Regions from separate parts of the Homo sapiens genome. Here all the other regions are linked to region 3. The links are contacts of gene promoters, found by promoter capture Hi-C in blood cells and fetal thymus (Javierre and others, 2016). All regions are on one chromosome and are shown on one strand. Each heading gives the region's core, a stretch centred on a gene start or on the middle of the fragment in contact. The rest is flanking DNA. Distances are from core to core; before and after follow the strand shown. Region 1 overlaps LOC105377684 (a long non-coding RNA gene). Region 2 overlaps LOC105377684 (a long non-coding RNA gene). Region 3 holds the start of ADRA1B (adrenoceptor alpha 1B). Region 4 has its middle 190 kb from the start of LINC01845. Region 5 overlaps LOC105377684 (a long non-coding RNA gene). Region 6 has its middle 170 kb from the start of LINC01845.

The links. The method cuts DNA at HindIII sites, captures the fragments that hold promoters and counts their contacts. A CHiCAGO score of 5 or more calls a contact.
Region 1: a fragment that was not itself captured here is called in contact with the fragment with the promoter of ADRA1B in region 3 in 1 of 17 cell types (megakaryocytes); the score reaches 5.5 in megakaryocytes.
Region 2: a fragment that was not itself captured here is called in contact with the fragment with the promoter of ADRA1B in region 3 in 2 of 17 cell types (M2 macrophages and megakaryocytes); the score reaches 6.5 in M2 macrophages.
Region 4: a fragment that was not itself captured here is called in contact with the fragment with the promoter of ADRA1B in region 3 in 2 of 17 cell types (M1 macrophages and megakaryocytes); the score reaches 5.8 in M1 macrophages.
Region 5: a contact is called between a fragment that was not itself captured here and the fragment with the promoter of ADRA1B in region 3, in 3 of 17 cell types (endothelial precursors, megakaryocytes and M1 macrophages). The highest score is 7.1, in endothelial precursors.
Region 6: a contact is called between a fragment that was not itself captured here and the fragment with the promoter of ADRA1B in region 3, in 1 of 17 cell types (megakaryocytes). The highest score is 11.8, in megakaryocytes.

The regions. Positions count from the first base shown.
Region 1 is chr5:159,620,149-159,623,912 of GRCh38, reverse strand. All of the region lies in intron 19 of LOC105377684 (a long non-coding RNA gene), which reads right to left. Among named protein-coding and RNA genes, the nearest start is that of LINC01845, 160 kb to the right of the region's middle. The HindIII fragment of the contact is 260 bases long and covers 1,174-1,433 here.
Region 2 is chr5:159,602,132-159,606,168 of GRCh38, reverse strand. The region is part of intron 16 of LOC105377684 (a long non-coding RNA gene); the gene reads right to left. Among named protein-coding and RNA genes, the nearest start is that of LINC01845, 140 kb to the right of the region's middle. The HindIII fragment of the contact is 4,203 bases long and covers 562-4,037 here.
Region 3 is chr5:159,913,853-159,917,735 of GRCh38, reverse strand. It overlaps ADRA1B (adrenoceptor alpha 1B), which reads right to left and starts at 1,254. Exons shown (of 2, transcript NM_000679.4): 1 at 1-1,254. The coding sequence starts at 830. RefSeq lists enhancers at 64-680, 681-1,297 and a silencer at 1,361-1,420. The HindIII fragment of the contact is 3,740 bases long and covers 1-2,994 here.
Region 4 is chr5:159,656,584-159,660,518 of GRCh38, reverse strand. No RefSeq gene overlaps it. Among named protein-coding and RNA genes, the nearest start is that of LINC01845, 190 kb to the right of the region's middle. The HindIII fragment of the contact is 844 bases long and covers 939-1,782 here.
Region 5 is chr5:159,584,591-159,588,206 of GRCh38, reverse strand. LOC105377684 (a long non-coding RNA gene) reads right to left here. Exons shown (of 20, transcript XR_941139.3): 15 at 2,293-2,466; 16 at 1,281-1,341. Among named protein-coding and RNA genes, the nearest start is that of LINC01845, 120 kb to the right of the region's middle. The HindIII fragment of the contact is 4,838 bases long and covers 1-3,616 here.
Region 6 is chr5:159,636,959-159,640,570 of GRCh38, reverse strand. No RefSeq gene overlaps it. Among named protein-coding and RNA genes, the nearest start is that of LINC01845, 170 kb to the right of the region's middle. The HindIII fragment of the contact is 2,798 bases long and covers 422-3,219 here.

The DNA.
Region 1 (3,764 bases), core at 54-2,553, 290 kb after region 3:
TCTTGATGACCTATTGAGTGCTGTCAGTGACGTACTGAAGTCCCCCACTATTTCTGTGTTGCTCTATCTCATTTATTAGGTCTAGAAGTAACTGTTCTATAAATTTGGGAGCTCCAGTGTTAGATGCATATCTATTTAGGATTGTGATATTTTCCTGTTGGACTAATCCTTTTATCATTATATAATGTCCCTGTTTGTCTTTTTTAACTGTTGTTGCTTTAAAGTCTGTCTTGTCTAATATAAAAATAGCTACTCCTGCTCACTTTTGGTTTCCATTTGCATGAAATATCTTTTTCCATCCCTTTATCTTAAGTTTGTGTGAGTCCTTATGAGTTAGGTGAGTCTGTTGAAGACAGCACATGCTTAGTGGATTTTTTATTCATTTTGCCATTTTGTATCTTTTAAAGGGAGCATTTAGGCCATTTACATTCAATGTTAGTATTGAGATGTGAGATGCTGTTCTATACATCATGCTATTGTTGCCTGAATACTTTTTGTTTTTTCATTTTGCTATTGTCTTATAGGCCGTGTGAGATTTATGCTTTAAGGAGGTTCTATTTTGGTGTATTTGAGGCTTTGTTTCAAGAGTTAGAACTCCTTTTAGCATTTCTTGTAGTGCTGGCTTTGTAGTGGTGAATTCTCTCAGCATTTGTTTGTCTGAAAAAGACTTTCTGTCTCCTTCGTTTATTAAGCTTAGTTTCACTGGCTACAAAATTATTGGCTTATAATTGTTTTGTTTAAGGAGGCTAAAGATAGGACCCTAATCCCTTCTGGCTTGTAGAGTTTCTGCTGAGAAATCTGCTGTTAATATGATTGATTTTCCTTTATAGTTTTCCTGATGCTTTTGCCTCACAGCTCTTAAGATTCTTTCCTTCCTCTTGACTTTAGATAACCTGATGACTATGTGCCTAGGTGATGATCTTTTTGCAATGAATTTCCCAGGTGTTCTTTGAGTTTCTTGTGTTCGGATGTCTAGACCTCTAGCAAGACGGGGAAGTTTTCTTCGATTATTCTCTCAAATAAGTTTGCCAAACTTTTAGATTTCTCTTTTTTCTCAGGAGCACCAATTATTCTTATGTTTGGTCACTTAACATTATCCCAAATTTCTTGGAGCCTTTGTTCATTTAAACTTTTTTTCCTTTGTCTTTGTCAGATTTGGTTAATTCAAAAGCTTTTTGAATTAACCTTCAAGCTCTGAAGTTCTTTCTTCTACTTGTTTGATATTATTGTTGAAACTTTCCAGTGTATTTTGCATTTCTTTAAGTAGGCCTTTCATTTCCAGAAGTTTTGATTGTCTTTTCTTTTTTTTGATATCTATTTCTCTGGAGGCTTTTCATCCAAATTCTATATTTTTTAAAAATTTCTTTACGTTGGTTTTCACCTTTCTCTGGTATCTTCTTGATAATATGGAGAAAACTTAATAATTAGAAGCTTTTAAGAATTCAGAAGGTTGATTATTAAGCTTCTGAATCCAGAAACTTAATAATCAACCTTCTGAATTCTTTATCTGGCTGTTCAGAGATTTCTTCTTGGTTTGGATCCATTGCTGGAGAGCTAGTGTAATTTTTGGGGGGATGTTGTAGAACCTTGTTTTGTCATATTACCAGAATTACTTTCCTGGTTCCTTCTCATTTGGATAGACTGTTTCAGTGGAAAGATCTGCAACTCAAGGCTGCTGCTCAGATTCTTTTGTCCCATGGCTGATCCCTTGATGTGTCTTCCCCTAGGGATGGGTCTTCCTGAGAGCTAGACTGCAGTGATTGTTATTGCCCTTCTGGGTATAGCCACCCTGCCAGGCTACCAAGTTTTGGGTTGGTGCTGAAGAATGTTTGCAGAGAGTCCTATGATGTGATCTGTCTTTGGGTCTCTCAGCCATGGATTCCAGCACCTTCTCTGGTGGAGGTGGCCGGAGAGTGAAGTGGACTCTGTGGGAGTCCTCAGTTGTAGTTTTGTGTAGTGCAGTAGTTTTCTGGAATGCTTGTTATGCTAGCAGTGAAGTGGTCACATGGACAGACTTAGGACCTCTGGTTCACCAGGGTGTTGCAGGCAGTGGAATGAGCTGTCGTTTTCTCCTTCTTTGGAGCAGGGTTGTTCTGTCCTGAGTTGCTGTCATGGCTTGAGTTGGTTGACCTCCAGCCAAAAGGTAGGGCTTTCAAGAGAGCATCATCTGTGGTAGTATAGAGGGGATACAAGCTTACCCTAAGATGCCTGGATAAGTATTTGGGTTTCTTAGGCAATGAGAGGGGCCACAGAGCTTCCATGAGTTTATATATTTTGTCTTCAGCTAGTAGGGTGGATAGAGAAAGACCATCAGGTGGGGGCAGGGTTAGGCATGTCTGAGCTCAGACTCTCCATGGGTGGGGCTTGCTGTGATCACTGTGGGGGATGGGGGCCAGTTCTCAGGCCAGTGAAATTGTGTTCCCGAGGGGATTATGGCTATCTCTGCTGTGTAATACAGGTCACCAGGAAGGTGGAGGAAAGCTGGAAGTGACAGGCCTCACCCAGCTCTCACACAGCCAGAAAGGCCTATCTCACTCCCACTGTGCCCCACCAACAGCACAAAGTTTATATCTGTGCTCACCAGACAGCTGGTGAGCAGGGCTGAGATCTTGCCCCAGGCTATGAGCCTCCCTGATGAGAAAGCAAGCAGGGCTCTCACACCTTGCCCCTCCCTGCCTGCCCACATAGTCAGCTGTACTTCTGCACTCGTATCAGTATTTCCCATTTGTACCCCCACCCTTGCCCCAAGATTCTGCTCGGAAAATTCATGCTCAGTCACAATTATTAGAGTTCAACTAGGAGCTTCCTTCATTCTGTGGCTCCTCCTCAATTCCACTGGCTGCCTTCCATACGAGCCCTGTGAGATAATGCTGGAAATAGCTTCCCTAGGCTCAAACTGGGGACCAGGAGTACCTACAGGGCTCTTCTCACTGCTTCTTCTACTGTTATATTTTGTTCAACTCCCTAAATCCATGTCAGCTTTATGTAAGGTTAAATCCTTCTCCCATGATCTGGATTGTCAGGTTCCCCAGTGGGAATGTGTGTACGGAGGCAGACATTTCCCCCTCACACTTTGGGAACTCAGTTTTTAGGCTGTCTTGGGAAGTTTGCAGTGGCAGGCCACTTCTTTCAAAGAGTCTGTTAACTCTTTCAGTTTTCCTGGTGTGTTTCACTGCAAAAGTTCACAATGTGAGTCTCCACATGCTGTTCTTCCATCCAAGTGAGAGCTGCATGTTAGTACTGTTTCCTATCCACTATCTTCTAACTGTCTCCAAAATCAATCAAATCATATTCTTTTTCAAACTTTCTGTAAATATCAAAGAAAAACGCTGAATTTGATGATGTTATGTCTTCCATACTCTATTTTCGTTTAAAGAAACAGTAGATGAAAGTCCAGTCTTTAGTAGGTTGTAGTATGTGGTTAGAATTTAATATCGTCACAAAGTTTTCTTTTTATTCATGCTTAGGATTACCATACAGTTATGACAAACTTTTCACCTGTGGCAGTGATAAAACCTTTCTTTTAAAATAAATTTGTTTACATTCTTCAAAAGTCAGTATACAGAAAAAATCTTAACTGAATATAGTATAGGTAGCACACAAATGTGGCAAAATAAAAGATCTGGGAAAACATTGTGTTGCACTGTACACACATCCTTATTCAGCGGTCCTTGCTACTCTCCAAGACAAATAATGCTTCTTCCCTTTTTCTCTACTGGAAAATGATTTCTTTTTGCTTTGTCTCCTGCTTCTTGCGTTTTCCT
Region 2 (4,037 bases), core at 1,414-3,913, 310 kb after region 3:
TTTAAGCAAGTTACCTGCCCATGCACCCATGCATGTGCACACAAACATACATACGCTTTGCAGGATGTTTCAAGGTAAACAGCCAAATACGTCTTATAACAAATTCTTTCTTGTATATCAAAACCATTATTACCAATATCAATTCACAGTTTCCAAAGAGAGTTAACTTTGCTTGGCTACCACATTTTCCGTAAACCCAAGGCTGTCTACACTGGTATTCTCTGCAATCAGGAAATGAGCAGATCTGAAAATGAGGTGTCCTGCTATTTGGGCAACACACAGACTGCTGGAATGTTCTTATCTTCCTGGCAAATTCACTGGGGGAACATTTGACCATGGCCACTCCACAGCACAGTTGCTGTCACTCCAGCATAGTATGCGTGGAAGAATGCAAGTGCACAACATGTTTGCCTGGAAACTTGCCCACAGTTCATTACCAGAGAGTCCAGTCTATTGTATCTTAGCCAAATTAAGGTTTGGGAAGTATTCGTTTTGTGGTGAGTTCAAATTTTCTGTGTCTTTGACCCTTATTCCTCTCAGAGAACCAAAGTAGAAAAAGCTTAGCTGTTCATAAACATAGCATATAAATTAATCATGATTTGGGTCCTGAGGCTTTTTTTTTCAATAGTGAAGGTCAAGGCAAATGCCATGACACAGCCTGTCTTTCTATAATAAACAGCTGCTTTCCTAAGAAAAGTTGCACTAACAAAATTTGTCCTGTAATAATTTCTGTCATTTATTGACTGCTTATTATCTGTTAGACACTGTGCTGAGGTCTCACAAGATCATTTCATTGACTCCTCACAGCCCTAAAGATAAGCACTATTATGATCCTCATTTTACAAATGAAAAACTGAGGCCGAGTGCTTAGATGATTTTTACACTATTCTTGATGGTGCCTAGGTTCAAAGTCTAATTCAAATAAGTCTAATTCAGAGTGTTTTTTCCTAATCACTGTGCTCGACCACTTCTCATTGAAAACAAATAAAAAATTGTTGAAATGGAGAAAAAGAGTTTAGGAGTTAGAGAGTTTCTTTTATACAGTTTTATTACTTTTGCTGCTCATTATTAGTGCAAAATGAAAATAAATTATAGAACAGTTCACAACTACAAATGGTCGACAAAAGTAAACTCACACTGAGAAACCAACCACTCCTACAAGTAGCAGTGTGCTTCTGTGTTTTGGAAAACCAACTTTTCTTATTTAAGTGATGACAATTATACAGTGATTCTATCAGAACTCTAATGTTCTGCACAGTTAAAATTGAATGCCCTAATTGGTCAATGCCACTACATCTAGCTTGCATTCTGAAAATAAGCTATTGGAGAAATGCCTGTAAATCTAAGGTAGCTTTTTCAGCTATAAATAGGCCAGGATATATATATATATATATATATATATATATATATATATATATATATATATACAATTTTTTTTTTGAGACAAAGTATTACTCTGTCACTCAGGCTGGAGTGCAGTGGCACCATCATAGCTCACTGCAGCTTTGAACGCTTGGTCTCAAGTGTTCCTCCCACCTCAGCCTCCCAAGTAGCTGGGACTACAGGTGCAAGCCACTAGTTCCAGCTAGTGAATTTTTTTTTTTTTTTTTTTTTGTAGAGACAGGGTCTCACTATGTTGCCTAGGCTGGTCTTGAACTCCTGGCCTCATATGATCCTCCCATATTGGCCACCCAAAATGTTAGGATTACAGGCATGAGCTTCTGGGCTCAGCTACGTCAGATTTTTTAGGGAACCCCATGTTTATTTCTTGCCACATCTGAATTTTTAAGTTTCACATCATACGGAAAAAACCACTGAGCTCATTGTATTGGCTTTATTTTTTTTTTTTAACTAAATGTCTACAACCATCAGAGAACTGGGAGCATTGTGTCCTGGGAAAGAGCACAACCATGTAGCCTTTTCCTTATGTCTCATGTCTCATACTGCACTGGTAGACAGATGGATACTCAGTGTATCAGCAGATTTCTGCTGTAATAATTCTATGTAGCAACAACCCTCCTCCCAAACCTCAATAGCTAACAAAAAAAAAATTCAATTTAATGTTGATAGGGATATAGGCAGCCTGTGAATTGGCTTTGCTCAGCTGGGCTAAGCTAGACTCCAATCTGTGGTTTGGGTTTATGCCTGCTCCGTATGTCTTTATTCCAGGACTCAGGCTGAAAGAGTAATGATTACTGGGAACGTACGCCTTACTCAAAGGTAAAAAGTTTGAGACGCTTGACAGAAACTTGCTGTCTCTTAAAGTGTCTGCTCAGAATTGGTGTATTCTCATTTTACTTCTGCCTATATTCATTGGCCAAAAAAAGTCACATAGCCAAGTCCAAGTAAGTAAGTAGGGGCAGGTATGTATACTCTGTTTACTATTGTGACAGGCACTAGAAAGTATATGGCAGAGGTTGTGAGTGTATAATCCTTTATAGAAAGGAATAAAGAGTTGAGAACAATAATTCAATATAATCACACTGAATATTTCCTACAATATGTTCCTCATCCATTTTTTATAGGACCCATGATATTTTATTGCAATTGTGCTTATAGAAATACATAATTCTTCAGTAGACTGTGACTAGGTTTTCACCCATTTCCAGCCCCAAGGACCAGGGCACTGCTTCTCACATTAGTAGATATTCAATAAATATCCAAAGAACGAATGTATGAATAAATACACTTATAAGGCAGCGATTATGAACAAACAAATTATTTAATTCTCAAAATAAGATTATGCCAAGGCATCCTCTACTGGAAAGTTGATAAATTACTGGTATAGAAAGTAGTTATCTATAAGAAGTCTTATTTTGAAATGTTCCAACTTTGTATCATGTTATCCATTTGCTGGGTAATTATTTATTGAGCGTCAACTATGTGCCAGGTACAAGGGTATGAAAGTGAATAAGATAGACTCAATTACTGCCCTCACCAAGGTACTAGGCAAGAGAGACAAACAGGAAATGATCACATCCACGATTATGGAAGTGCAGGAGCACCTGATCCGTCCTGGGAGACCAGCAAAGTCTTCCTGGACACCATGACTTTTAAGCTAAGATCAAAACAGTAAGCAGAAAGAGAAGGGGAAGCAAGACGAACTTTCAAAACGGAGGAAACTATATGTGAGTAAGAAAAGACAAAGGTAAAACCCAGGTTCAGATTTAGGTAGCTGGGAGAATGGTGTTATGATGACATTTACTAAGAAGAAATATAGGAGGAAGAGAGTGTATGCGTTGGTTAGGGTGATGGGGTGGTGATGGGGTGGGTATGGGGATTTATTTATGAATACTGATGGCTTGGAGATACAAGTGGTACCTCCTGAAAAAGACACCCAGGTAGCAGTTGTATCTGAAAGTCTCAATTTCAGATGAGAGGTAGGAGCTGAAATATAAATTTGTGATTCATCCATATATATATGTGATATAATAAAGAATATATCTGGTCTTTATCCCAGTTCTTGGTGCAAAGATTTTGAAACCTTGAGTAATAACAATGTCTTTGTTATGCTAATGGGATGACTCATGCTGGGTTCCTAAATAGCTTTAGGATGGGGGCTGGTCACCAGGAAGACCAATCCCATGATTAGAGTGTTAGAACCTTAGGCTGCCAGCCCAATAATGTCCAGTGAGAGAAGTGAGGCTGGAGACTGAGCTCAACAACATGGCCAGTGATTTAATCAATCGTGATTTGATCAGTCATCGGTGATCTGATCCATCAACCATAATGAAGCCCCAGTAAAAACTCTGGAAACCAAGGCTCAAAGGAGCTTCCTGGTTGGTGAACAACTGATGTGCTGAGAGATAAATATGCCTGGATTCCTAGAGGAGAGGGCAGAGAAGCTCAGTGTCCTTCCCCTCCCAAGACCTTGTCTTATGTGCCTCTTCTGTTTAGCTGTTCCTGGGTTGTATCCTTTATAATAAAACTGTAATCATGTGAATAGCACTTTCAGAGAGTTTATGAGCTGTTCTAGCAAATTACTGAACCTGAGAGAGTCATAGAAACCCCTGAATTTGTAGCTGGTCAGTCAGTGG
Region 3 (3,883 bases), core at 5-2,504:
CTCCTGGGGTTGTGGCCCTTGGCCTTGGTACTGCTAAGGGTGTCCTCGTGAAAGTTCTTGGAATGGATCCTCAGGGTCAGCTCCTTGGAGTTGGACATCTCCTTCATGACTCCTGCCTCTAGGTTCTTGGTGGTTCTCTTGGCCACTATATAGACACGGCAGTACATGACTAGAATGACCGCCAGAGGGATGTAGAAGGAGCCCAGAGAGGAGAAGAGGGCATAGAAGGGTTCTTCGGTGACCCCGCACTCCTTGTCATCGTTGGGTGCCGGCTCCTTCCACCCAAGGAGAGGCCCGATGGAGATGACGGTGGACAAGACCCAGACACTGAGCAGCGCCAAGATGGCCTTCCTCCGGGTGACCAGCGTGGGATACTGCAGAGAGTAGCGCACCCCGATGTAGCGATCGATGGAGATGGCGCACAGGCTCAGAATGGACGCTGTGCAGCACAGGACATCCACGGCTGCCCAGATGTCACAGAAGATCCGCCCCAGCACCCAGTAGCCGAGCACCTCTAGGGCCGCTGAGAAGGGCAGGACGGTGAAGCTCAACAGCAGGTCGGCCATGGCCAGGTTGACAATGAAGTAGTTGGTGGGCGTCCGCAGGTGCCGGTTGCAGGCCACAGACAAGATGACTAGGATGTTGCCCACGATGGCAAAGAGGATGAAGGCGCCCAGCACCAGGCCCACAGAGATGGCCCTGGTGATGTCCAGCTGGGGCAGTGTGGAGTTGCTCGAGGTCTGGTTGGGGCCAGTGAAGTTGGCATTTTTCAACTCTCCCCAGTGGGCAGGTGCTGATGTGTTGTGGCCGGTGTCCAGGTCGGGATTCATCTTAGAGTCCGCCCTCCATAGCCAGGGGGATGATTGGGCTCGGAAGGGCTGCGGCGAAGGCTCCTCAGCTGCCCTGAAACTTTGCTTCCCCCGTGGTCTTCTTCCCAGAGGCGCCCTCCTGGCGAGGAGTCATCTCCCCCGGGCAGCCCAGCCCGGCAGCACGTCTCCTGCCTGCACCGAGTCGCTCGCTCGCCTGTCAGAGGGAGGAGGAGGAGGAGAGGGGACGAGGCGGCAGCTCCAAGTTTAATGGTCCACGTCAGGCGCGCCTGGCCGGGCTCGCGGGGGAGCGGCGGGGAGGAGGGGGCGGCAGGGCCGGGGGCGCCCGGCGGTGCCCAGCTCGCTCGGGTCTGCGGACCGCGGCGCGTCCTCCGCCCAGCGAGCGCCGAAGAGGGTCTGCTTTCAATGAGCCGCTTCTGGGCTGACTGCACGGCGGTGACATCAGGCGGGGGAGCCCGGCGCCCTGACTCCGCGCGGCACTAGGGGGCAATGCGGGTCCAGCCAAGGCGCCCGCAGCCCCGACGCCGCCACCCCGCAAGCCGGGAAGCCAGCCGCGTCCCCCGCCGCTCCCAGGGCGCGCCCTCTGCGGGGGGCGGGGCGGGGGCAGGGGCCGCGAGGGCGGGACCTGGGCGTGGAGATCGCGGGTCACCCACCCCTAGGCGGCCCGCTGGGGTTATTTTCCCCGCTAGTCACTCTTCCGTGTCAAAGGTGGGTTGGGGGCTGCTTACCTTTAATAGGGGGCTCCCGGAGTGGGCCCCGGATTTAACGGGATATGCAACTTGTCCAGCACCTAAAAGAGGGAAAGAGAATTCTAGGATTGGGCAGGTGGGAGGGACTTGAGTCGGATCTGAGGCCAGCCCTCATCCTTCATCTGGCTCCCCTCGCCCCGTGCAAACTCTTTGGCCCCAGTAAAATCTGGCTTCTCTTCATCCTTTCATTCGCTCAGGCATTCACTCATTTATTCAGCCGATTCTTACGGAGTCTCCACTCTCTGCCCTGGCTCTGGGCGCTGTGAACATAGCAACTGAACAAAATAGACGGACTCCTGCCCTATAGGAGCGTAGCTTCTCCCGACAGAAGACAGACAGTATACTAAATAAGCAAATGATGAGGTGTGTAATGTGATGACAGGTGTTAGGCTGAAAATAAAGTAAGGAGGGGGAAATGCAGTGGGGTGTTTGTGGGGTGGATTTGAAATGTTAAGTGGGTGCTTGGGATGTCACTGAAGTGATATTTGAGGAAACATGAAGGGAATTGAGGGAGGAAGCTAGCTGGCTATCTGGGAGTGGGGGTGAGGGAGGTCAGAGACCTGGGGAAGGGACGTAGAGGATCTTGGTTATTTGTTGAGTTTTTTCCTTTCTGTCTGATATCCATGTTGGACATTCAGTCACAGGGACGCACTCCCAAAGGTGGGTGAATGGTACTTAGAAGAGAAAGTATGGGCCAAGAAAGAAAGAAAGAAAAAGCCAAAGAACTTTATGTTAGTTCACATTTATCCAACATTTATTTTGTCCTAGACAGTGTGCTGAGTTCTTTTTGCATTTTCTCATGACTCTCATGAGAGAAAGAATACACTCTTCACCATTTCTATTTCATGGATGAGACACCAAATTATGGGGAAGTTTAGCTGTTCGCCCAAGTTCACAAAGGCATGGAGGAGAGCTGCTGGGAACTGAACTCAACTGTGGGGTCTCTCCCAAAGTTGGGTACTCAGCTACTGTGTCATACTTTTCCCCCGGGGCAAGGTAGGGGATGGAACCACTGTTATAGATGGAGCTGCCTTTTGAGTAGTTAATTTTGGGGCCTGAGCCACTGGTGCTGGGCAGGGACTCCCATGAATTGAGCGCTTACTGATAGCCATGCATTTACTCAGTTTCTTTGAGACTTTACAATTCTTTGAGAGAAGCATAACCATTGTTCATTGAGAGATGAGAAACAGTGGTTCAGAGAGAGTCAGTTGATTCCTGAGGTCATAGGCTAGCAAATATATGGCAGAGCAATGGGCAGTGGCAGCTGGAGATTGAAAAGTAAAGCCTGATACCTTCTTTTACTCCAGTTCACAAGCCTGCATCTTGGGTTTCTCACCTTCTGCTCTTGATACTTGTTATAACTTGATATTCACGGGTGGGGAAAACAGAAGTCACTCAGGATGACTTACATCTAAGCTTCTCAACCTAGAGGTAAGCTCTTAACCTCTTTTTATTTTTATTTTTTGAGAAGGGAGGCAGGTGGTTATCATACACGTATCGAAGGTTTTAATTTACTCCCAGCAAAGTGCACAGACTCCACACATGTGCAAAATACACAATTTCAGGGGGTTTCCCTCGGGTTAAGAAATCTGTGGTAGAGACAGTCCTGAAAATGGATTATTTTCTATTATAATTAAATTGCCCTAAGCTGTATTTGAAGATTTGATAATAAGAGATTCACAAGTTTATAGTGATTTAGATCTTCAGAAGCTCTCAGAACCTTGGTTTGCTTATCTTCCTGTGTTGGAGGTGGTGCACTAGGGAAAGAGACTTGGCAAGATGGTCAGGAGCAGAGCTGGTTAGGAAACTCTGTTTCCCTGGCCTACAGGACAGTGCTCCTTCTGCTCCTGCAGCCACTCATGACCTACACAGTGGGGTGTGAGACTGGAAGAACTTGGCAGCCCTCTGTCAGGGGTCTTTATTAAAAGGAGAGGCTGTCATTGGTCCTGGGTGGCTCAGACTAGTCTGTCTGCAGATAGGACCTGGCTTAGATGATCTTTGAGATCCCGTAGCTCCAGGTGGTCAGCTTCTCTTGCTGGATAAAGTGGCCCCCGAAGGCACCTGCTATCCTTTCTCTCATGCATCTTCCAGGGTAGGGGTGAGAGTGAGGTATCATGAACTCAGTTCCCACCATTCCCAATGTATCATTAAGTCTAAGATAATGGGGCTTCTCTTGAGCTGGTTTACTTATAAGGGGAGAGGGAGGAGGAAGAGAATACCAGTAACCTGGCACGTAGCTGGCATTAGCACAAAGACAGGGGTGTAGGGGAGGGTAAGGGTGGGATAAAATAAAGAGCAAGTTCCAAA
Region 4 (3,935 bases), core at 111-2,610, 260 kb after region 3:
CGAATCTCAATTTGAAGAAGGACAAAAAGTACTGAATTCTTAAATCACCCACCCAAACTTCTTTTTACCCCAGTCCAAGTCTTCCTAATCTCAGCAAATGGGACCCAGCAGCTCAGGCCAAAAATCTGGGAGGGATCATTCTTGACCTCTCCTTCTTCCTAACTACCCCCTCCAACATTTAATGTATTTCTAAATCCTGTCAGTTTACCTCTCAAATCTGCCCATGACTCTCCATTGGTACTAATATGAACTTGATACAAGCCACCAACATCTGAATGTTTTACCTCTGTAAGCTACCTTCACCACAGTGGCCAGAGTGCTCTTTAAAAATTACATCAGAACATGCTCCTGCTTACAGTCCTCCAGGAGCTTTCCAGTGCACTCAGAATCTTATCCAAATCCCTTTCCAGGAGCTAGATTACAAGGTTCTGAATAAAATGGCCCTCCCTCCTCTTCCATCTCATCCAGGCCCTGTGTCCTCCCATCACCATCTTCCAATCAAACCGACCTTCCTCCAGGTCCTTGAACACCCCACATTTATCCCCACTGCAGGGCCATCACTTCTTTCCCCACCAACCCCAGGGTATGGAACCCCTCAACCAGCTAAACTTCTCCTCCAGATCTGAGCTAAACCTCATCCTCTCTGAGAGGTCTGCCCTGACCATCTAAGCCAGGAGTTGGCATATGTCTTCTATAAAGAGCCAGATAGTAAATATCTTAGGCTGTGCAGGCCATGAGGTCTCTGTCACAACTACCCATCTTCAACTCTGACATTGTAGCAAACACAGCCATAGAATATATGTAAATGAATGGACATGGTTCTGTTCCATTAAAACTTTATTTTCAATAGACAATGGCATGATTTGGCCCTCAGCTGTCACTCGCTGATCCCTGATTTAAACCAAAGTATGACTTCTCTGTTATTCCTACACAAAGCTTCTTATAAATCATAAATATGTGCCCACTGCTGTTTCTTGCATTAGTCTGCTAGATCTATGAGGGCAGGAAGGAACTTGGACTCTTAAGGATCTGCCAGAATATAGAGCCTGGTAAAGTGCTGACCATACAGTGAGGCCTCAGTAAACATATGTTGCATAAAGGAAGAAAAGGAGAGAGAAAGGAAGAAAGGAGGGGAAGATTCCTTCTTCAAGTACAGGTACTTTTTGTTAAAAGGCAGCAAACATTACTGGTTCTTTTTTGTCTTTTTTTCTTTTCTTTTTCTTTTTTTTTTTAGATGGAGTCTTGCTGTGTTTCCCAGGCTGGAGTGCAATGGTGCAATCTTGGCTCACTGCAAACTCTGCCTCCCGGGTTCAAATGATTCTCCTGCTTCAGCCTCCCGAATAGTTGGGGTTACAGGCACCCACCACCACACCCAGCTAATTTTTGTACTTTTAGTAGAGACAGGGTTTCACCATGTTGGCCAGGCTGGTCTCAAACTCCTGACCTCATGATCCACCCGCCTCAGCCTCCCAAAGTGTTGAGATCACAGGAGTGAGCTACCACGCCCGACCAACTGGCTCATATTTTTAACTCTTTCTCTTTGTCAGGAGAGTCCTAGGGTAAATGACTTATCCATTTACTGTTGTGTTCATTTCTTCATCCCTTCAGTGATGTGGTGTTTACTATCTCCCCTATATACTGAATACTGTGCTGGGGAAACAGATCCTGGCCAGGCCCTTCTGAGCATCTAGTCCTGAAAGCTGAGGGCTCTCCCCACTCTCTGTTCCCAGAGGCCTTTTATTGTGTTTTGTTGTTGTTGGGAGCCAAGGGAAAATTCAAGCTTTGTGAAGTGAAATTGAGAGGCACAAAGCAATTAGCAAAGAAGTCCCGCAGAGGCCCTCTCAATCCAGGAGCGAGCCCTGCCCTCTCCTTCCTGCCTCATTACTGTAAAACAGCCCTCAATGTAATTCTCCACTATGAATTTCTCCACCTTGGCAGATGAAAAGCGAGTAATTGGGTACCCCGAAAGTTTAGCAGCAGCATTCCTTTGAAAGAGACAAGACACCTCCCTGCGCATGCAAGTCCCACCTCACTTCTTCCTCCCCCAGTCTGCTCGCACCTCCCCGGCCTCCTCCAAACTGACTGCAACACCATCTACGAAGCTGAGAGCTGGGCAGTCATTAAAGATCATCAACTATAGAGCTCTTCACCAGGCAGGATTATGTTTAGCAGACAGCAAGACTGTTCCTGCCGGCTCCCGTTAAGTTTCATCAAAACTGTGCCTAATTAAAATCTTCAATTTAATTATGCTCCTCTGCATTACAAATTTTGATCAAATTGGTTTAATTTGGTACAAGGAGTTATGTTCATTTCACATGCAAAGTGAGCCCACCCTGAAGCTAGGCTCTGTGTCCCCAAAGCCTCTCAGGACCCTCTTGTACAATCAGGATTGCCCCCACCCTCCTGTGACCCCAGATTTGGAGAATCGCCCGAGGCTTGGGAAATTGGCAGTTGTTGCTCTGCCCACATCTGCAAGAGCTGTCCTGAAGCCACACTGAAGCTGACAGCTGTCTTCCCCCACCCACCTTCCCCTCCCAGCCTCCCTTTCCTCCTCTGCTTTTGAAACGCCCTCATCTCGGGAAAAATCGCACCCAATCTGTCAGTGAAATATGCTGTGGGATTGAAGCTCTGGCAATCTGTTTCCACTCAGGAGAGAAATCTCAGCCTGCTAGTGGCCCCGTGGAGAACTTCCCAAAGTCCTTCATTTACAGAATCCCAAAGCAAAGGGCTCCCTGATCACCCAGTCCCAGGCAGTTTCCCTGCCTTCTACCCATAGTCAACAGGCACTGCCAATGCTTGGCCTCCCAGCACTTCTTTATCCCTTCCTAGGTCCTTATCCCATCATATAGAGCCCCAAGACCTGAGATCACCCAGGTGACCCCTCCACCTTACACCCTCCTGGCAACCAGACCTTTCCAGGTGGTCTTACCCTCATCGAAACCCCCTGGTCTGGAGTTCCACTCCCTCTAGGGCTTCCCTTGCAAACCTTCCAGCTCATCTGATGGTGGCATTCCTGCTCCTCGCTGAATGCCTTGTGTCTCAAGCTGAAGTGTGAGCTCCTTCTATGCATGTGTGCTCAGAATAATTTATCCTATGTGGAGCCGCAGGCTAAATGCCACCTGTCATACTGCAATGTCAGTTTTACTCAAAGGTAATTTAAAACCTTATTTGTATATTGTGGAATGGAATGAAAAATTCACACGATGTTTTAAAACAAGAGACTTCAAAGATAAGCGGCCGGGGGTTGCAGCCCAGACCCCTTGGGTCTTAGTCCACTTTCTCTAACCTTTGGCAAAGAAGTCTAAGTACCCCTGGTGAAGTGTTACCAAAACCCTCATAAAATATTCGCCCCTTCACCGGGACTTCTGATCCCAGAAGACTTTTATCTTTTATTTTTATTTATTTATTTATTTTTTTGAGATAGAGTCTCGCTCTGTTGCCCAGGCTGGAGTGCAGTGGCGCGATCTCGGCTCACTGCAAGCTCTGCCTCCCGGGTTCACGCCATTCTCCCGCTTCAGCCTCCCGAGTAGCTGGGACTACAGGCACCCACCACAATGCCTGGCTAATTTTTTGTATTTTTAGTAGAGACGGGGTTTCACCATGTTAGCCAGGATGATCTCAATCTCCTGACCTCGTGATCCACCCGCGCCCGGCCCCAGAAGACTTTTATTTAAGGGGTGGCCATTCCTCTGGGAAGGATGCCTAAATCTACTGCTGCCTGTCCCCTCTCTTTGACTCTATTCCCAAATTGCCAACTGCTTGATTGGACATTTTCACTTGCACACCGTGCCTTGGATGGCCCTGAAATTAACTTGTCCACAACTCTAAACCTACCATGTCCCACCAGCATCATCAGGCCTGCTCTCCCATGTCATTTTCCAGCTTATCTTAATGGTGTTCCAGTTTTCCCTGGCACTGGGTTTGGAAATACAGGA
Region 5 (3,616 bases), core at 941-3,440, 330 kb after region 3:
CACCACTTCATATCAGTTGCGTTTTACTTGCTTGACCCCGTTAGATATAAAGGTAGGGATTCCTGTCTGTTTGTGCACTGCTTTTTCATAAGTACGTAAAAATGGTGCTTGACATGTAACAGGCACTTCATAAATGTTTTTTGAATGAAAACCTGATGAATGGAAAACTAACAGTTATTGAGCTCCTACTATGTGCCAGGCATGCAAGTACTTTTACATACACTATTTCATTTTATCTTTGCAACAGCCTAATGATGGAAGGACTATTATTACTTTCAGTTTACAGACAAGGAGGCTGAGACTTACAGAGGTTATGGAAGGTTCCCAAAGACACAGAGCCAATGAATGGTGGAGCCAAGATTTAGACCCAACCATCTCACTCCAACATCTATGCTCTTAAGTACTGAAGTCTTACTGTAGTTTGAAGTCATTACATGAAATATTCTTAAGTCATGGGTTATTCTGTATCACAGATGGGACGTCTTGACTTCTGTTTTCTTTCTTTTCCCGGGCTGTTTTCTGTTTTCCTAACAGATTAAGAAATAGGCCAGGTGTGGTGGCTCAAACCTGTAATCCCAGCATTTTGGGAGGCTGAGGTGGGCCGATCACAAGGTCAGGAGATTGAGACCATCCTGGCCAATATGGTGAAACCTCGTCTCTACTAAAAACACAAAAAATAGCTGGGTGTGGTGGCGTGCACCTGTAGTCCCAGCTACTTGGAAGGCTGAGGCAGGAGAATCGCTTGAATTTGGGAGGCGGAGGTTGAAGTGAGCTGAGATTGTGCCACTGCACTCCAGCCTGGTGACAGAGCAAGATTCTGTCTCAAAAAAAAAAAAAGAAAGAAAGAAAGAAAGAAAGAAACCTTACCTGTTACCAGTTTCTCACAAATACACACACATACATACCCCATTTCTTTTCATAGCAAAATTGTAATGAGATTTGGAACACTGGACCTTGAAATATTTTATTAGAACAAGCATCTCCATGAAACTACACACCATTACTCACTTTCTACCACCCCCGCACAAACGATATCCATTTGATTGCAAGTCAGGTTGAAGAAACCCAGTGGTTGCAATTGAGCATTCACAGCATGTTTGGAATATAAGCCGAGGAGCCCAGCACACACTCAGAATGATGCATTGTGCCTGCGAGCCTGCAACAGCACATTCATTTCTCATTCATGAGGAGAATGGGACACTTCTAGAATGGGTCTGGGGCAGGTGACTGGGGTTGGACCGAAAGGCAAGCAAGTTGTCAACTTGAAAGGACAGACTCACCTTCTAAAATAGAGTTCTCACTGCCTCTAAGACGCTGCTGGTGGGGTAGAGATGTGAGTGCCTAAATCGCCAAGCAGAAGAAAAAAATCGTGCATGCAAAATCTGCATTAACCTCCACATTCTCATAAATACCAACCATGTATGTGCCAAGTAGTCATCCCTTGCTTATTTGTATTAGTGCGATTACTGAAGGTTCAAATTGAAATGAGCCCTTTCTCTTTTCCCCGAAGTCCTGGGGGGGGCTTGAAAGGGCCACATTAAGAAATTAAAAGTTTCTGATAAAATTCACTCATTTGATATTCATAGACATGCCAAGAATTGAGAAATAAAAGAGGAGAAGAGAAAAGGAAAGAAAACCAGAGCTCTCATTCTCCTGGGGCTGTACTTAAAGTACAGCAGTTATGCTTTCTAAGGAGCATAATGTTAGGACATTAGTGCTGAATCAGAGCGAGAGCTGTCATGCTGCTGAGCCATCCAAAAGGACCGGAGATGCAGAAGTAGATGCCCCAAAGCATCTTAGCTGCATCAAGTCTGATGACAGCATTTTTTTAGTAGGACCTCAGAAGTTGTGTGCCTCTCACTGGTCCTAGAATCTGGGATGCTCGCTTAAATGCAGATTCCTGGGTCTCCTCCTGTGTTTAAGAAATTAGAATAACTGAGAGCGGGGCCCAGGAATGTGCATTTTAACAATCTCCCCAGCAGAATCTGATGCTCACCTTCATTTGTTCCCTGGCCTAGTGAGCACTGCTCTAGATCTCTAGGCCTACAATTGAGATTAAAGGGTTCAGCTTGTTACTCTATATTCTTTTAACTTTGGTGATTTTTCTCATTGTGCTAGTTTAAAACCATCTACTCAGGAGTTAGTAGAGATTTTATTAAGAGCTTGGGATTCACAAATTTTTTTTTAAAAAAAAAGGTAAAAATCTGCACTTAGTATTTACAACAACCTTGGACAAGTTACTTAGTTCTTTAAGCCTCAGGCAAGTCGTGTTAGATGTGGAGTGATACTTACCTGTTGGTGTTGCTGAAGGAATTAAATGTGATAAAGCCTGTAAGGTGTTTAGTCTAGTGACTGGCATGAAATAAAATAATGATGAGGTGGCAGTGGTGGTGACACAGAGGCCCAGAGCTGGGGTGAGGGGGGCTGACAGATTCATGAGGAGTCCTGGTCTTCAGAATCTGAGAACTTGGCAAAATAAGAAAAGGGATGAGTAAGTTCATGTGAGGATGTTTGTCAGGGACAAAGAAAGCACCCTAGCTCTAGCAGCTCTACAAAATATATCCTTAGAACAAATCCAGCCTGCTCTCTGTTTGTAAATAAAGTTTTGTTAGCACACAGCCACACCTATTTGATTATACATGGTCTATGGCTACTTTTAAGCGGCAATGGCTGGGTTGAGTTGCAAGAGAGATCGTCTGGCCTAAAGAGCCTAAAAAAAAAAAAAGTCTGTCAATCCCTACCCTTAGTAAACTGCCAGGAGGGGCTTTTATTTTACACAGGAAGAGGGGCCCAAGAGAAGAAACTGAATCATGAGGAAAACAAAGGTGCCAGCTATGCTGTCTTGTGCTGCCCAGCAACACTCCACATACACACACTCACACACACAATACACCCCTCCATCACAATCCCCACGTGCCCGGGAGACTTCAAGGATTTGTCCAGTGTTCTCCTTCTGAGGGTTTCTCAGGACACCCATCTTCTAGCCTGGCCAAGGGGAAGGGGCATGAGGGTGAAAGCCATTATACTTAAACCCAAGCCTGGCCCTGCCACTAGCCAGCTCTGCAACCCTGGGCAAGTCATTTTATCTTTCTGAGCTTCAAGGTCCTCATTTGTAAAATGAGGAGTTTGGAGTTGTTTGAGCCATTTACTAATGCTACACATAGCCTAAGTTCAGGCCTCCACTGCAGGGTTATCAGTCTCAGTGTGTCTGTCAGAAATCAAGGAGTAGAGAGGTAAGAAGTTGATTTGGTTACTGGATATCTCTTGGTCCCTTTCCACATCAAGTTTCAGGCTTATACACTGGGAGTGGCATCCTTAATCTCTATCCAGTTTTGGATCTAGTGGCCAATAAATGAATGTCAATTTATATTATAAACTGAATTATGTCCCCTACCAGCACCCCCGCAAAATTCCTATCTTGAAGCCCTAACCTCTAATGTGATGGTATTTGGAGATATGGCTTTTAGGGAAGTAAGGTTAAATGAGGTTATAAGGTGTCCTAATCTGATGGAATTAGTGTCCTTACAAGAACAGGATACACTAGAGAACCCTCTCTCTCTGTGAGAGCCGTGTTAGAACAAAGCAAGAAGGTGGACATCTACAACTCAGGAAGAGG
Region 6 (3,612 bases), core at 571-3,070, 280 kb after region 3:
CTGGAACCATAGCTGGGCAGCTGCAGCTGCACTCAGGGAGCACGAGGCTCCTACCCTGCCAACTTGGAATAGGGTGGGGTTTCTGCCTGTTCCCAGCTCCTTGCTGCACCTGTCCCACTGCAGATGGCATCATGGCAGCAGCCACTCCAGATGAGCCACTGCTACCATTAGTATGTCATTGAAAAAGTTATTTAACCTATCAAAAGCTTGGGTTGCTTATCTACATAAACAAGATGATCATAACAGGACCTATGTCATCTGCTTGCTGAAAGGATTAAGTTGGATAATACATCTAAGGCATCTAGCACACCTCTTGTCTTATAAGAGATGCTTAAGTGCTCTATGTTTTAAAGATAGTATTTCCTCAAAAGAATTTAACCACAGAATTAAGCTTTCATTCTGAGAAATATTTTAGAAAGCTTTGGAGAGCACTCTGAGCCGCTCACTTACTAGAGTCTAACTTTACTTATCTGTGACACACAGAACCTATCTAACTCCTTGGGAGACTCTAAGAATGGGATTGGATAGAAGGGAAAATAGCTCAGGGAAAAGAACATTACATGGCATTTGTGGCATACACTGTGAGGAGCCCAACCAACAGCCATTCTCAACTTCCTCCCTAATAGAATCCTGATTTTGTTCAAGGAAGTACTTTTTCCGTTTCAAGAACTAGATCATGGTTGTTTTAAGCCAATCTTAGCAGCCTTTCACTTTTACTAATCAGGTTTTTCTCCAGCTTTACTCATATTTAGGGATGGCTGTGAGACCCAGTTCAGTCTAGTCGTATACAGTTGACCCTTGAACAGCACAAGTTTGAACTGTTTGTCCACTTATACATGGATATTCTCCTGACTCTGCCCCAGGAGAAAGCAAGCCAACTCTCTTCTTCTTCCTCCTGCTTGGCCTACTCGGTGTGGCAATGATGAGGATGAAGACCTATATGATGATCCACTTCCACTTAATGAATAGTAAATATATTTTCTCTTATGATTTTCTTAATGACGTCTTATTTTTCTCTTGCTTTATCATAAGAATATAGTATTTAATACATATAACATAGAAAATATGTGTTAAATAACTATTTATGTTATTGGTAACACTTCTGGTCAATAGTAGGTTATTTGCAGTTAAGTTTTTGGGGAGTTGAAGGTTATACACAAATTTTCAACTGCATGGAGATTAGTGCCTCTCACCCCCATGTTGTTCAAGGGTCAACTATATATGCAAAAGTCTGCCAAGAGTCTTTGGGGAAAAAAATTTGTTGTGTTTTTTTACATAAAAGATACCAATGAATGAAGAGTTTATTTGTGTTATCTCTTCTTTCTTCCTGCCTTGAACACAGATGTGATGTCTAGGGCTGTAGCTTCCGTTTTATGATAACAAGGCAATGAGCATGAGGACAAAACTCCAACAGTTAAGGATGACGAAATAAGTAGAAATATGTTAAATCTTTAGTGCCATTGTTGAGCTGATGAAACAGCCCAGGAACTGCCTACATGCAGGCTTCTTGCTAGGTGAGATAATAAATGACTTTATTGTCTCAGCCACTGTTCATCTGATATTCTATTATTTATGGACAAAAACATCCTAACTGAAACAACACAAATATGAGAGCTAATTATTATAACTTTTCTCTAGGAATTCCTTTTAATTTAAAGTTGTGAGTGTCTACAAATTGTGGCTTGACAATTGTAAATTATTGAGGGTGTGCTTGAGACATCCTAGGAATTCTTAACATGAATGGATATGAGGAAAGAAATACTGTTTCTTCCAAGAAAGTCTGAAAAACCAACAAAAATTAATTTTCTTCATATTATTTTTCTTCACATCATCTATGTTCTTTCCCTATAATTTTCTGAGGCCAAGGGCCATTGTGCAAAATGATATGTACATTACAGTTGTTGTTTTCTCTGAATTTTTCAGAAAAATTTTTATTTCTGCCAGCTCCTCTCCATGCAGCTGACTTCTCAAGCTGCATGCACACTAGCATGAGATGTATACTTATAGAAGAGGCTTACTTTCCTGGGAAGTGTGTTTGTGAATCAGAAATGGAGGCAGAACTGCATTGAAAATAGAAATTTTCCTTGTTTTGACTGAAAATTAGATTTCCTGGATTTTATGTTATTAGATTCAGGTTGCTAGTATTTAGTTGAGAATTTTACACCCCTATTCATGAGAGATATTCATCTCTTGTTTTCTCTTGTTGTGATGTCTTTGTATGGCTTTGATATTAGGGTAATACTGATCTTTTTCTTTAAAATCATTAAATAAATACTTAAATTTCTAGAAAATATTTAAAGTTTTGGAAACTTTTAAAGAGATAGTACTAATTCTCCTTTAAATGTTTAGTAGAATTCAGTAGGAAAGCCACCTGGACCTGGGCTTAACTTTGTAGGTAGGTTTTTATTATTTTTATTATTAATTTGATCTTTTGACTTATTATTATAGGTCTAGTCAGATTGTCTAATTCTTGAGTAAGTTTCAGTTATTTCAGTCTTTCTAGAAATTTCTCTATTTAATCTAAGTTATCTAATTTATTGGCATACAATGATTTATAATATTTCTTTATAATCTTTTTTAGTTTTCCAAGGTGAGTATTGATATCCTTTCATTTCTGATTCTAGTATCTGAGTCTTCTTGTTTTCTTGGTCAACCTAGCTAAAAGTATGTCAATTTGGTTGACATTTTAAGACAACTAGATTGGCATCATCACTTTTTCTCCATTGTTTTTCTGTTCTCTACTTTATTAATTTCAACTGTGATTTTTATTATTATCTTTCTGCTATTTTCTGTAGGTTTAGTTTGTACTTCTTTTTCTTAGTGTCTTAAAGTAAAAAGATAGGTTATAGATTTAAGATTTTTTTTCTCTCTCAACATAGGCATTTACAACTATAAGTTTTCCTCTGAACATTGCTTTAGCTGCATCCCATAAGTTTTAGTATGTTTTGTCTTAATCTCATTCATCTTGAAGTATTTTCTGATTTTCCTTTTGATTCTTTTTTAATCCACTGGTTATGTAGGAGTATATTTTTTAATTTCCACTTACCGTGAGTTTCCTAAATTTTTTCCATTATTAATTTCTCATTTCACATGGCATGTGATCTATCTTGGAGTACATTCCTTATACACTTGAGAATAATGTACATTCTGTTGTTTTTGAGTAGACTATTCTGTAGATGTCTATTAAGTCTAGTTGGTTTGTAATATTGTTAGGAAGCTTCTATTTCCTGTTGATTTTCTGCTTAGTTGTTCTATCCATTGTTAAAATGAAGTATTAAAGTTTCCAACTATTATTGTTGAATTATTTATTTCTGCCTTTTTTTGTCAGTTTTTGCTTCATGTATTTTGTGTTGTATTATCAGGGGCATATATGTTTATGATTGATATATTTCCCTGAAGGATTGACTCATTTATCATTATAAAATATTTCTGTTTGTCTTTAGTAACATTTCTCATTTTAGCATCTATTTTGTCTGATATTCATATAGCTACTTCAGCTTTCTTGTGGTTGCTGTTTGCATTGTATATTTTTTCCATTCTTTTTCTTTTGATTTCTTTGTATCTTTGAATCCATAATGTGCCTCCTGTAGATAGCCCATACTTGGATCTTGT